Linked DNA regions of Homo sapiens: regions 1 and 2 are each linked to region 3. Evidence: promoter capture Hi-C in human tissues and cell types (Jung and others, 2019). All regions are on one chromosome and are shown on one strand. Each heading gives the region's core, a stretch centred on a gene start or on the middle of the fragment in contact. The rest is flanking DNA. Distances are from core to core; before and after follow the strand shown. Region 1 overlaps RBFOX3 (RNA binding fox-1 homolog 3). Region 2 overlaps RBFOX3 (RNA binding fox-1 homolog 3). Region 3 holds the start of ENGASE (endo-beta-N-acetylglucosaminidase).

Evidence for each region. Contacts are between HindIII fragments. The study calls those that stand out against the background at their distance.
Region 1: a fragment that was not itself captured here is called in contact with the fragment with the promoter of ENGASE in region 3 in 4 of the 25 tissues and cell types used here (dorsolateral prefrontal cortex, lymphoblastoid cells, mesenchymal stem cells and 1 more).
Region 2: a contact is called between a fragment that was not itself captured here and the fragment with the promoter of ENGASE in region 3, in 4 of the 25 tissues and cell types used here (IMR-90 fibroblasts, lymphoblastoid cells, mesendoderm cells and 1 more).

What each region holds. Positions count from the first base shown.
Region 1 is chr17:79,463,711-79,468,045 of GRCh38, forward strand. The region is part of intron 2 of RBFOX3 (RNA binding fox-1 homolog 3); the gene reads right to left. Among named protein-coding and RNA genes, the nearest start is that of RBFOX3, 150 kb to the right of the region's middle. The HindIII fragment of the contact is 3,575 bases long and covers 1,244-4,335 here.
Region 2 is chr17:79,344,433-79,348,879 of GRCh38, forward strand. The region is part of intron 2 of RBFOX3 (RNA binding fox-1 homolog 3); the gene reads right to left. Among named protein-coding and RNA genes, the nearest start is that of RBFOX3, 260 kb to the right of the region's middle. The HindIII fragment of the contact is 5,802 bases long and covers 1-4,447 here.
Region 3 is chr17:79,071,928-79,076,472 of GRCh38, forward strand. It overlaps ENGASE (endo-beta-N-acetylglucosaminidase), which reads left to right and starts at 2,897. Exons shown (of 14, transcript NM_001042573.3): 1 at 2,897-3,163. The coding sequence starts at 3,018. RefSeq lists a silencer at 2,759-3,298. The HindIII fragment of the contact is 14,853 bases long and covers 1,381-4,545 here.

The DNA of each region.
Region 1 (4,335 bases), core at 1,781-4,280, 390 kb after region 3:
CTCCACCGCCACTGCCACCTCCACCGCCATCACCACTGCCACCTCTACCGCCATCACCACTGCCACTGCCACCTCCACCACCATCTCCACTGCCACTGCCACCTCCACCGCCATCACCACTGCCACCACCACCATTGCCACTGCCACCTCCCCATCGCCACTGCCACTGCCACCACCATCGCCATCACCACTGCCACCACCACCACCATTGCCACTGCCACCTCCCCACCATCGCCACTGCCACCTCCACCACCATCGCCACTGCCACTGCCACCTCCACCACCATTGGTAGCAGCCGTGACAGCTTTCCTAGGGCTGCTCTGCAAAAACAAACTCCTCCTGGGCTTAACCGTAAGCCCTTGGCAACCACCAATGATGGGGAACTTGACTGCTGCTTTGCTGGACCCAGACCAGGAAATCCAGATGGGAAGACGCAGGAGTGCACCAGCTCCTCGTGCTCTGTGGCGAGGCCTCTGCGAAACGGGCGCACATCAGGAAATGTTCGCTCTCCCTTCACCACCAAGGAGACTGGCCGATTTCCTCTCCTTCAAGCTTCTTCCAACGGACAGAGAAAATTCCCAGAAAGACGTTGGGGGAAATGTTAGCGACAGCCCGGAGAAGAGGGGAATGTTTACGTGGACGGGCCTTTGTGCCTGCCCAAGGTGCCGTCCATCAATACCGCCAACTTGGGGAGGATGCCCATCAAGGCGGAGCAGGGACACAGAGGTGTCACGTGCACCTCGGCCCACAGAGGAAGGATGCCCAGTACATCTGTCGGGGCGGCCCGAGGACAGGCGACAGATTCCCCCGCAGACATCTGCCTGCTGGAGGAACGTGCCGTGATGCAGACGCCGGGGGGAGGCAAGGAGAAGGGAGGAAGGGAGGCAACTCTTTTTATAGCAAGTGAGCAAACAAACAAACTGTTTTGCCTTAAGAAGCCAAAAAGGAAAAAAGAAAAAGAAGGAGAATACATTTCTGCCACTGCTGGGAGCATCGTAAGAGCCACCTTGGTTGACCACAGAAAGAAGTGCAGGGTGCCAGGCACACTGAGGCCAGGGCCTTCCCTCCGCGGCCCCGAGGACAGCTGAGAACAGGCCAGCCCCAGCCGCTCAGATGCCAGCAACGTGCTGGCACAGTGCTCGCCCTGTTGTGAATGAGTCCTCAGTCCCTGCAGAAGCTCAGTGAAGTCGGATGGTCACTAACCCGATTTGACAGGTGAAGAGGGTGAGGCTCGGCAAGTTAGCAAGTGGGGAACCACGAGGTGGCCCCAGCTCTGAGCCCCCACCTGCCACACTGCCATGGGGACCCAAGGGTCTCCCGTTTATGAGCTCAGCCTTCCGAAGGCGAGGTGGAAGTGAAGGACTGCAAACCCCGAGTTAAACCCTCTGACTTCTCTCCACCTCCCTCGTGTCTTCCTCCTCTGGCCCTCAGACCCTCGAGCCGATGAAACGCACCACGACCTTGGCTTCCCGAGGCGGCCTCCCCTCACCCCGACACGGGAGCTGACATTGTGCATTCCATTCAGAGCTCCCTTTGTTCAGGCCACATAGAAACCAGAGCTGCTCGTCAGAGAAAAGCTCCATCCCATAATAAACAGCATGAACTATTTATAATCCCGAAAACATCTTTATTATTATTTTTCTTCCCTCCAGAAACAATCTCACGCAATCCTGTTAAGTACACACCACGGAGGACTGGAGGGCCACGGGTCGGGGCTGCTTCCCCTGGCCCTGCCCAGCGAACAGATGGCAGCGTGGGCGTTAGGTACCAGCCTCCTGGCAATCTGAACATCTGTTCCCGTTAGAAAATGCTAATTGCCATCAATCAGGACAGCACCTACCCACATTTACATGCAAGCACACATGCACAAAAAAAAAAAAAATACATCTAAATTTCTCCAAGTGCAACACTCCCTGCATGTTAACTAGCCTAAGCTTTGCCTCAGCCTCGGAGGAGCAGCCCCGTGGCCAGCTTCTGGCCTGGAGGGCTCCCGTCGGGGCCTGCCCTGGACCCACAGCAAGCAGTGAGGTTAGGGAGTCACTCGGCAGGTAGCCATGCTTCAGCCCCCGGTGGCCTCTCATCCGCCCAGCAGGGAGTAGGCACGGGATCGCGGCCTGGGCAGTGCAGGCCGCCTGGACAGAATCCCTCCCTAGCCTGGATGTTTCTCTCTACGCCTCCACAAAGCCACTCCTCCGGCTCCATCTGTCCTCGATGTCTGCACCCATTCCCCTCTCCCTGAGCAAAGCTTCTGGGCATCCCCACGGCCCCCAGGAACAACCCAGCTGGATCTCCCAGCCCAGAGGTCGTCTCCATATCCACATCCAAGGGCTGGCCCATGAGGCTCCCTCTGCCCAAAGTGCATGTGTGGAGACACCTGGCAGCTCCAAGCCAAGGTCCCAGACCCGGCCTCTGCTGGGCTGTGTTTTCTACCCCGTGGGGCTGGGGACAAGATCTCTCCAGCATGTCAGGTGGGACTGGGCCCCAGCGGCCTCCTCCCTCCTCTAGCCTGGAAGCCCTAGGCTTGTGAGGCCCCGCACCCTCTCCCGGATTGTTCTCTGGTTGAGCATCACAAAGCCACAGGCCTTGGTGATCAGGAAGAGTCCTGGGGGGCGGGGGGCGAGCACAGGCAGTGGAAGGGAAGCAAAGCTGCCCCAGATAGGTGGGTGACCCAGGATGGAGAAGGGCAGCACCTGCGAGTGTTTGCCCCTTGGGGAGTCGAGGGCAGAACCTCCCTCCTTCCTTGCCTGGCTTTCTGCAGAGCCCCTGCCCTCCCCAAGGAGCACAGACCCAGGCTACTCCCTGGGACCTTGGGAGGGTCACCTGCAGCCCTTCTGGAGACCACAGGGACCAATAACATGCCACAGTGACCTCAGGCCATGCATGCCCATTGGAGGACCCTCTGCATTTTTAGAAAGTGAGCTGGAAACATTGGCCTATTATATAATGAAAGTCCCACACACACACACCCTCCCCAAGAGAAAGCGATTTTGCTAATTTTTCTCCCGGGCGGCAGGCGCCGTTGCCAGCCTTGGTTGCTATGGGGCCCAGTGACTGGTTTGAGTGGTAAACTCAGGGGATTGGAGGAGAGGTTTCCATGGGGAGCCACAGAGTGCAGCCGATGAGAGGCCACAGGTCTCCCCACCTAGGGCAGCCCACACGACCAGGTGTGAAGAGGGCCTCCTGGACCCAGACCTGGCAGGTGACCCCATAACAGGCATGAGCCATCTCCATGACATCATAACAGGGTCTCTTAATGGGGACATCCCTGTCTGTGAACCAGGTACAGGCTTCCTCTGTGCACATGCATGACACATGCCATATGCATGCACTGCACACGTCTAGATAAGGTGCAGAGCTGGCACTGCCACGGGCATGTGTTATGGCCTCATCGAGATGGCTCAGGACTGCGGTGGCATCACCTGCCAGGTCTGGGTCCGGGAGGCCCTCCTCACACCTGGTGGCACGGGCTGCTGCAGACGGGGGGTCCTAGGGTCTCTCACCAGCCACACCGTGCTGCTTCCCATGGAAACCTCTCCTCTGATGCTTGAGAGAGGCTGATGTGTGGCTTAGGTCCCCAGAGTAGCGTGCCTTCCTCAGAGATTTCAGGGGATGAGTGATAAATAAAGAAGTGGGTGGAGATGAGGGCAGAGCGGGGAGGAGGGAGAGAAGGTGGAAAAACTCAAAGAACCTTGCTTCCAAATTTCTTTTACATTTTGCCTTCTTTTAAGATGATCCCTCTCTTGGTACCAGGTAAACTCATGTGGATGTTGAGGACATGAGGCCACCTGATGTCCCGGGGGCATGTCCCAGCTGTGCACCTGTGGCCAGCACTCCTGGGCCACCCCCTGCTCTGCCTGCCTGACAGAGAGGCTTACCGCCACCAGCAGCTCTGCTCCTGAGCTGCCTAACTGCAGATGGTGGGGGGCAGCACCTGTTCCGTGGGGCTTAGGGCCTCCGGCTTCCATCCATGAGTGCCAGCGTCCCTGGAACGTGTGCCCCACCTGCCTCCTGCCAGGATCCAGGAGTGGGCACCTCTCCTCCCTGGGATCACTATGGTCTTTGTTCAGAATCACAGTGTTTCTCTCTGCTATGGGCCTTTGAGTCCTCCCAGGAAGGGACCTTGAGCAAGGCCTCCGGGAAGTTGGCCTCCTCCTCTGCTTGCCCCCTCCCACCACGCCCTCTGACCCTCTGATTTCTCTGTGGCTCCTGAGCATGGCCTGTCTCCCTGCAAGGTGCCACAGGTATGAGAACCCAGGAGACGGTTCTTCTCCAACACCCGAGGCAGACGTCATGCCTCCTCCCTGCCTCTCACTTCCCACTTTGCAGCTTTACTGT
Region 2 (4,447 bases), core at 1,312-3,811, 270 kb after region 3:
ACAGCCACCCCCTACCAGAGCTGCTGCCCTCTCCCTCTATCCCCTTCCTCATTGGGCTTCTCAATCATTTTCCTGCAGAGGATGGATTCATGTTGTCACTTTGTTTGATTATTTATTTATTTATTTATTTATTTATTTAGAAGACGGAGTCTCACTCCATTGCCCAGGCTGGAGTGCGGTGGCACAATCTTGGCTCACTGCAACTTCCACCTCCCAAGTTCAAGCGATTCTTGTGCCTCAGCCCCCCAAGTACCTGGGATTACAGGTGCATGCCACCATGCCTGGCTAATTTTTGGATTTTTAGTAGAGGTGAAGTTTTCACCATGTTGGCCAGGCTGGTCTCAAACTCCTGATCTCAGGTGATCCACCCACTTCAGCCTCCCAAAGTGCTGGGATTACAGGCATGAGCCACCACGCCCGGCCATCTGTTTGCTTTTCAACCCACCCCAATCTGCCTCTGTCCACACCACTTCATCAAAACTCTCTTATCAAGGTCACATTTGACCCTCTGACTGCAAAACTCAGAGGATGAAGTCACTTGCCTGTCCTCAGACCATACTTGACCACTCCTACCTTCCTTCTGGAAACAAGTTTTTCTTTGGTTTTGTGACACTAAACTGCTGACTGTTCTCTGCCTGTAGGGCTGATTATTCTCTGTTGTTTTTGCTGAACTCTAAATGCTGGAGTTCTTCAGAGGACAATTCTAACTGTCTTCTTCAACAGCAGTGTTCCTGAGAGCTTCTCTTCTCCACCTGTTTGTTTTGGTTTGTTTTGTTTGAAGAATTGATCCATTTTACCTAAATTGTGACATTTACGTGCATAGAGTTGCCTGTAGTATTCCCTTATTATCCTTCTAATGGCTGCAGGGTCTGTAGTGATGTCCCCTGCTTCATTACTGAGATTGGTAATTTGTCTTTTGTTTATCCTTGTTGGTCTTGCTAGATAGAAGTTTATCAGTTTTATTGCTCTGTTCATAAAGGGATTGAACCAATTTATGCTGTCCTTCTTATGAATAAGAAGCCTGATGATCATTATATTTTCTGAAACTTGGATTTGTCAGGCTTTGAAAGTCTTGCCAATCAAATGGAAGTTAAACGCTACTCATTGTGGTCTAGATTTGCATTTCCCAGCTGATTAGTGAGGTTAAACATCTCTTTTTATGTTTATTGATTATATATTCTCTTCTGTATGAAATTCCTGCCTGTCCTCTGCTTTTTTCTCTTTTGGGATGTTTTATACTTTTCTTCTTGATTTTCAGTTATTTAAACATTTTTGATACTAATCTTTTGTCAGTTGTGTGTATTGCCAATATTTTCTTCTAGTCTTTTCACTTCTTAAAGACTTCACTTTTTCTAAACCATTCAATATATTGAATTAAAAAGCACTTATTTTTTCTTAACTTTAATGTACTCAAGTCTGTCAATCTTTTTTTATACTCATTTGATGTGTCTTGTTTAAGACATTTTCCTCTATGAGATTTGTTTTTTGTTTGTTTGTTTGTTTTGTTTTTTTGAGATGGAGTCTTTCACCCAGGCTGGAATGCAGTGGTGTGATCTTGGCTCACTGCAATCTGCACCTCCCGGGTTCAAGCAATTCTCCTGCCTTAGCCTCCCAAGTAGCTGGGATTACAAGCACACACCACCATACCTGGCTAATTTTTTGCATTTTTAGTAGAGATGAGGGTTCCATCATGTTGGCCAGGCTGGTCTCGAACTCCTGACCTCAGGTGATCCACCCACCTCAGCCTCCCAAAGTGCTAGGATTACAGGTGTGAGCCACCATGCCTGGCCTCCTCTAAGAGATTTTTGACATTTAACTACTTCATCCACCTATGTCCATTTTCAAAATATGGTGTGAGGTAGAGATCTAATAGTGTACTTTGTATATGGGTAACTACACAATTTTTTTTTCCAGCTCACTTTGTTAAACATCCCTGCCTTTTGCCAGTGATTTGAAATGCTACCTCTAACATAACCAAAGTTACATAAGTTCATGGATCTGTTTCTGGGAATCCTGGGAATTGATTAATTGGTTGATCCTTATGACAACACTAGGTAATCTTAATTACCATAGCTTCACAATGAGCCCAGATATGCGATAGGAGAAGTATCTCCTTCATGCTCTGCTCCTCAGAGGGGTTCTGGCTAATTTTTGGTGTCTTAATCTTCTATATCGTCATTTGATGAGGCTCCAATTGGGAATTAATCAGAATTGCATTGGCTGTAGTCAATATAGATCAACATGGGGAAAATGACATTTTAATGATATAAAAACTTCCTATTCATTTATTAGAACTCCTCTACTTACACTTCATAAAGTTGTACATTTTGCCTGTATAAGTCTTAAGCATTTTAAAATTAAATTAAAATTAAATTTATTCCTAGGTATTTGACATTTTCTGATACTACTAAAAACAATGTCTTCTATTTGTGTGTGTTTGCTGCTGGTATGTAGATAAAAACTGAGTTAAACTTATGCCAGATAACTTGCTATACTCTCCAGTTTCTAAAAGATTTTGTGTAGATTTGGGCAAGGGTTCTATGTAAATGATCATATCATCTGAAAATAATACAATTTTTTGTTCTTTCCAATCCTTACACATCTAGCTTCTTTTTCTCTCTTTGTTGCACTGCATAGGAGAATGGAAGTTTTACTAGCTTTCACATCTGAATGACAATTTGGCTGCATGTAAAAGTCTATGTTCTATGTTCTTTTATTCTGTGCTTTGAATATATCACTCCATTGTCTTCCTGCATCTGGCATAGCTGTTGAAAATCCTGAAGTCTGTATAATAACTTGCTCTTTGTGTGTGATCTCTTCCTGTCTGGAAACATTAAGAACTTTATCTTTGTTATTCTTAAATTTCACTGTAAGTGTATAGGTTTTGTTTCCCTCTTATCTCTTCTTTTTGGGACTCCAAGACCTCTTCAACCTGGGCTCTTTCATCCTTTTTCTTTAAATCCCATTGATTTTATCTCCACATTTTCTTCATATATGTCCTCTTCTATATTTTTATTTTTCTCTCTTTGTAGGACTTCTATGATCCACATGTTAACAACTTAACATTAGCACCTTAACTTCTTTCCTCCTTGTGTTAGAACTTTTCTATTTTCTTTTTCTTTGTGCTTTTCCTTATTTTTTTCTTGGCTGATACATCAAGCTGGTCCTCCAATTCACAAATGCATTCCTCAGTTATTTATTCTAGTACTTTTCTCCTGTATCGCATTATTTCCACAGCTATACCTTAACACCAACAATTTCTACTCGGTTCCTTTGTATATCTTCTTGATCTTATTTCACATTGCTAATATGTCCCTTATCTCATTTAGGAGGTTTATTAAGCTTATTTTTAAAATTGGTCCCTCTGTTCTGGTATTTCTATTCTGATAGAATCTGGAAGCTGTAACTCAGTTTGTTGCCTTAAAAAAAATGCTTGTGCTTCTCGAATACCTTGTTATTTTGCCTGCCAGCTCATTCCCTCCAGTGGAAGTCTGCTACTCTGCCCTGCCCTGTCTGAGAGGTGGGTAGCCCAGTAAGCCTGAGTGATCTCAGAGAGCGGTGGGTGAATGTACTCCAAGTGGAGAGGCTCCAAAAAATCACAGTCAACCCCATCCACTCCACCAAATTCCTCCTTAGATCAGAGCTTCACCTTCCCCCTCCTGAGAGATGCGGCATTCAGAGGGACCTCCCCAAGCCTGAAATAGTGCAGTCTCCTGGTCGTCTGCAGAAAAGCGGGGAAGTGACTGCTGGGGTCAGGTGGGCTGCACCTGTTTTGCTTGGCTCCCTGTGAGCACAGGTCCCTCTGCTGCTGTGCTGTATTAACACCTGCACCTGAGCCCTGCATAGCCACAGGTATAGACAGGCATGGTTTGTCCCAAGGCAATAGTGGCTGGAGCTGGGCTAAGTAAGAACAGACATCAAACATTCCCCTTCACGCTTATTCTCCCATAGCTGTGTTTGGCCCACCCCTGCTCCAGGCCAAAGCCATAGCCCCATGCACAATGATTTGAAACCCCTCACCCCCTCCATCTGCTGTCTCATTGGTTTCACTCTATTCTTCCCCTAGGGGTGAGTTTGGAGCAAGGAGCTAGTGGTCTTGCTGGTTACCATCAGAACAAACCCAATTTCTTTTCTTTTCCTTTTTTTTTTTTTTTTTTTTTTTTTTGAGACAGAGTTTCACTCTTTTTAAACAGGCTGGAGTGCAGTAGTGCCATCTCGGCTCACTGCAACCTCCGCCTCCTGGGTTCAAGTGATTCTCCTGCCTCAGCTTCTCAAGTAGCTGGGCTTACAGGTATGCCCCACCATGCCCGGCTAATTTTGTATTTTTAGTAGGGACGGGGTTTCACCATGTTGGCCAGGTTGGTCTCCAACTCCTGACCTCAGGTGATCCACCTCGGCCTCCCAAAGTGCTGGTATTACAGACATGAGCCACCACCCCCGGCCTAAA
Region 3 (4,545 bases), core at 1,647-4,146:
AGTTCGAGACTAGCCTGGCCAACATGGTGAAACCCTGTCTCCACCGAAAATACAAAAAATTACCAGGCGTGATGGTGGGCGCCTGTAATCCCAGCTACTTGGGAGGCTGAGGCAGGAGAATCGCTTGAACCCGGGAGCTGGAGGTTGCAGTTAGTGTGCGGAGATCACGCCACTGAGCTCCAGCCTGGATGAGAGTGAGACTCTGTCTCAAAAAAAAAAAAAGTCCAGACATAAGCAGTCCAGGGCAACACTAGTCTTGCTGTTGGGGACCTAGGCCCCTCCCAGCCCTTCCACAAGTGGCTTTCATCTCATGGTCTCAGATGGTTGCTGCAGTTCCTGCCATCACATCCTTGCACCCAGCTGGCGACCAAGAGAAGCCAGGAAGGAAAGGTGGAGGGCAATGCCCCCTTTGTTTTGCAGGCACAACCAGAATTGCACTTCTCACTTTGTTTCTTGTTTCATAAACCACAGCTTACTTGTAAGTAAGTACACGTGGAAGGTCTAAGTTCTGCCTCTGGGGAATGCTGTCTTCATCTGGGCTACCATGTAGTCAGCAAAAACGTGGGGCTTCCGTTCCTAAAGGACAGGCTCGGAAGGAATATTGGGGACAATTAGTTCCTGCCACACTCTTCAGCATATCAGCAACCAAGCCCGGGGACCAGGTGGTGTCCACTCACCTGATTCTCATTTCCGGCTCCCCCGGAGGCCATGAAGGAGGAGGCAGAGGAAGGCAGAGCAAGCAGGTGTGACTCTAGGTCCCCACTCCGGGCGCTCTGGGCATGGCGAGGGGGGGTGCAGAGGCAAGTGCATGCACTGCGTCACGACCTGCAACAGGAAGCTGATGGGACAGCATGGTCAGGCAGGGAGACCCGAGGCTCAGCTGTCCCAAACCAACCAGTACTGGTGTGGGCAGAGCCCAGGACAGCCAAGAGCCTGCAGGGAGGTGTCAGAGGGGCCCCTGTAACAGGGCAGGGTGGCTCTGCCGAGGCTGTAGTTCAGATTCACAGGTAGGGATGCCAGATTTAGCAAATGCATAGACAGCATCCTAGTTCAGTTTGAATTTTAGATAAATATGCAATAACTTTTTAATATAAGCTTGTCCTATGTCCCAGGCATCATTTATTTGGAATTCAAATTTAACTGATTGCTCTGTATGTTATCTGAAAACACCAGAAGGTTAGGGTTTTAGAGGGCCCACTCAGGCCTCAAACGGATCCAGAGCCCCAGTATGAGCCAATGTGAGCTCAAGGCAGACAGGGCCCCTCCAGGCTTGGCCTGACATCCAGAGAGACCACGAGCCACAGGGGCTAACAAGAGGCCACAAGGCCTAAGTCCTTTCTGTCCTCAGGGGCGTGCAAGGCTGCCTTCACTTTCTTGCTCTTCTAGACCAGGTGCCTACTCTTTGGAAAGGAGAGAAGAAAAGGGAGGTTTGGGCATATTTTCTCCCAGAGACTGAGCATTACCCAAAGGCTGTTCAAAGTATCCCTTAGAACTGTGTTCTAACCTGGGTAGGATGAAAGTTTATCTATTTTTATTGCTAAGCTGCAGGTGAGGGCTTGGGAACACCTGGTTACATGCACCCCAGATCAAGACTGTCCACGTCCGGTGCACCCCTGAACACAGCAGGAGGGAACTTGGGGATCCACTGCCCTCGCTCACTGTAAGCTTCCCAGGACTGAAGCCCCAAAGAGGAGCCCTCTGCCTTCTCTGTCCTCCCCATGGGTCAGCGTGTCCTGCTTCTGAGTGGCCCGTCCTTCCTGCCTAACTGGCTGGCCTGCACCATGGCCCATATTCAACAACCTTAGTCATAGTTCCCACCATTGGCGTTTATGGAAGCTTGGAGCCTCATAAAGTTCAAAGTCTGCAACAATAATAAAGGCCCAGTCAACTTGGCTTGGGCGGCAGCTGCAGCCCAGCACTGGAAGCTCCTAGCTGTGGAGGGGCGTTGGGGCCTGGAGGGAGGAGAGCCTTGGTTTGCCCTGTGGGGCCCAGCCTTGAGTTCTGGCTTCTCAGGGCTCTGTTCTATCATGTTTCCTGTGAACTCCTTTTGTGCCTAAGACGCTGGGCAGTGCCACTCTTGCAGAGGTGCCACTCCAGGCCCTGCACGCTTAGGGGTAGAGCAACTACTACTGTTGGGCACAGGCGTGGGGCTGTAGAAAGAAATCCGTGTTTCACTGGAAAACTATGCATCCTACATAGGACACCAGCTTCCACATGGCCCGATACTAACCTACTAACCTTTCATCTTTTTTTTTTTTTTTTTGAGACGGAGTCTCCCTCTGTCGCCCAGGCTGGAGTGCAATGGCACCGTCTCGGCTCATTGCAGCCTCTGCCTCCCGGGTTCCAGCGATTCTCCAGTCTCAGCCTCTCAGGTAGCTGGGATTACAGGCATGCACCACCACGCCCGGCTAATTTTTGTATTTTAAGTAGAGACGGGGTTTCACCATGTTGGCCAGGGTAGTCTCGAACTCCTGACTTCAGGTGATCCGCCCGCCTCGGCCTCCCAAAGTGCTGGAATCGCAGACGTGAGTCACCGCGCCCGGTCTGAAAATTATCTTTTAATAGGGGTTAGCTGCATGAGTTAAAATCTCATTGCCACCATTTGCTGACTTTGTGCCCTCTGGGAGATTGCTTAATCTCTCTGGGATAAACCTCGGTTTGCTTGACAAAGGAAGCTGGTGAGGCTAAAGAGAGAACTCTAAGATTGGGGCGTTCCGAAGCCTTCTAGAGCCTTCTAGCACCCTGGACTCATAGCCAATGATGGGCAACAACAAGAACGACGACGAACCCTGGGCTCGGAACTCGCCCAGGCCCCGCCCCTCACAGCCCCGCCCCGTCCTCGGCCCCGCCCCCGGCCTGTCGCCTCAACAAAGTCCCCGCCGCGCGGCCGCTGGCCGGGAGTCAGCTCGGAGTCCCGTCCCAGCGCGGCGTCAGCGCTGCGCACTTCCCATTGGCCGAGCGCGGCGCGGGGGCGGGCCCGGGCCTGCGATTGCCTCTCGGCGTGCGCGGACAGTGTCATGGAGGCCGCGGCGGTGACGGTCACCCGGTCGGCTACACGGCGGCGGCGGCGGCAGCTGCAGGGGCTGGCGGCCCCGGAGGCGGGGACGCAGGAGGAGCAGGAGGATCAGGAGCCGCGGCCGCGGCGGCGGCGGCCGGGAAGGAGGTGGGGCTGCGGGGCCCGCGTGAACCCCGATCCGCGGGGCTGAGAGTCCGTGGCCCCGGGGCCCGAGGTTTCCCGGCACGGGCGCGCCGAGGGGCGGGGGGCCGGCGCCTGTGTCCGCTCCGTGCACAGTAAGGGACAGAGGGTGGCAGCGCCCCTCCGCCCCGGTCCGCCCCGCCGTCCTCGCGCCACTGCCGGGCAGCGGCCTCCGGCCCCCGTGCGTGACCCCTGCCTATCTCAGAAATACGGGTGCAAACCCGAGTGGCCGCGGGGCCCAGCGGGAATCCCGACGCCCCGGCCAGACCCCTGCTTCCCACGTCGCTGGTCTATGCGGAAGATCCCGGCGGCGGTGCTCATGCCTGGCTCAGTGGATGCCGGCTGGTGGAAGGGGTGGCCTTCTGTAGGGGTGACACTAGAACTGAGTCTTTGGGGAGGAGGAAGCCTTCAGTAGGTGGAGAATAGGGAGTAGGGTATCCAACTGGCGGGGAACAGAAAGGGCCAAAGCACAGAGACAGAAAGGGACGAACATGCCCCTCTGGGCTGGGCTTCCTTCCTTTGGGGGGCACTTGCCCACCCGGTAAACTCCCCCTCAGTAGGTTGCAGGGGGAGAAGTTAGGAGCACAGACATGGCTTCCGGAAACAGCAGCCGTAGCTTTGTTTCTAAACCCAAAGCAGTGAGACTGCTGAGCATTTCAGACCTCATGAAGATGGGATGAAGGCTGGCTGCTGGGAAAGATATTTTTGGACAGGAGGAATGTGGAGATGGCTCTTTCCCTCCTAGTGGAGGAATGACAGGTGACAAAGGTGACCTGGTGTGGGATTGTTCTGAGAAGGTCTGGGAGGGGGTGGCTGAAGTATAATAAGGACATCAACGAGGAAGGGGGCTTTGGAAAAGGAAGGTGGAGAGGAACAACTGCGGCATCTCTGCTTGAATCCGTCCCCGACCCCTGCAGTTCTCAGGGTCTCCCAATGTCATTCTGGAGGCCCTGGGTCAGTGTTTGGTGATGGCAGATGCTACAGAGGACTCTTTGCAACAGGCCTCTGAATGGCAGTGGAGTGATGGCAGATGACAACTCAGTGAACAAAGAAGTGGCCTTGGGCGTTGGTAGATTTAGGGAATCTCAACGTTGGTGCCATGGCCTCTAAATAGCCACTGCGGTGTCTTCTTACTGCTCCTAAAATAATAATGATTTTTTAGGCCAGGCATGGTGGCTTATGCCTGTAATCTCAGCACTTGGGAGGCTGAGGCGTGTGATCACCTGAGTTCGGGAGTTTGAGACCAGCCTGGCCAACATGGTGAAACTCAGTCTCTACTAAAAGTACAAAATTAGTCAGGCGTGGTGGCAGATGCCTGTAATCCCAGCTACTTGGGAGGCTGAGGCAGG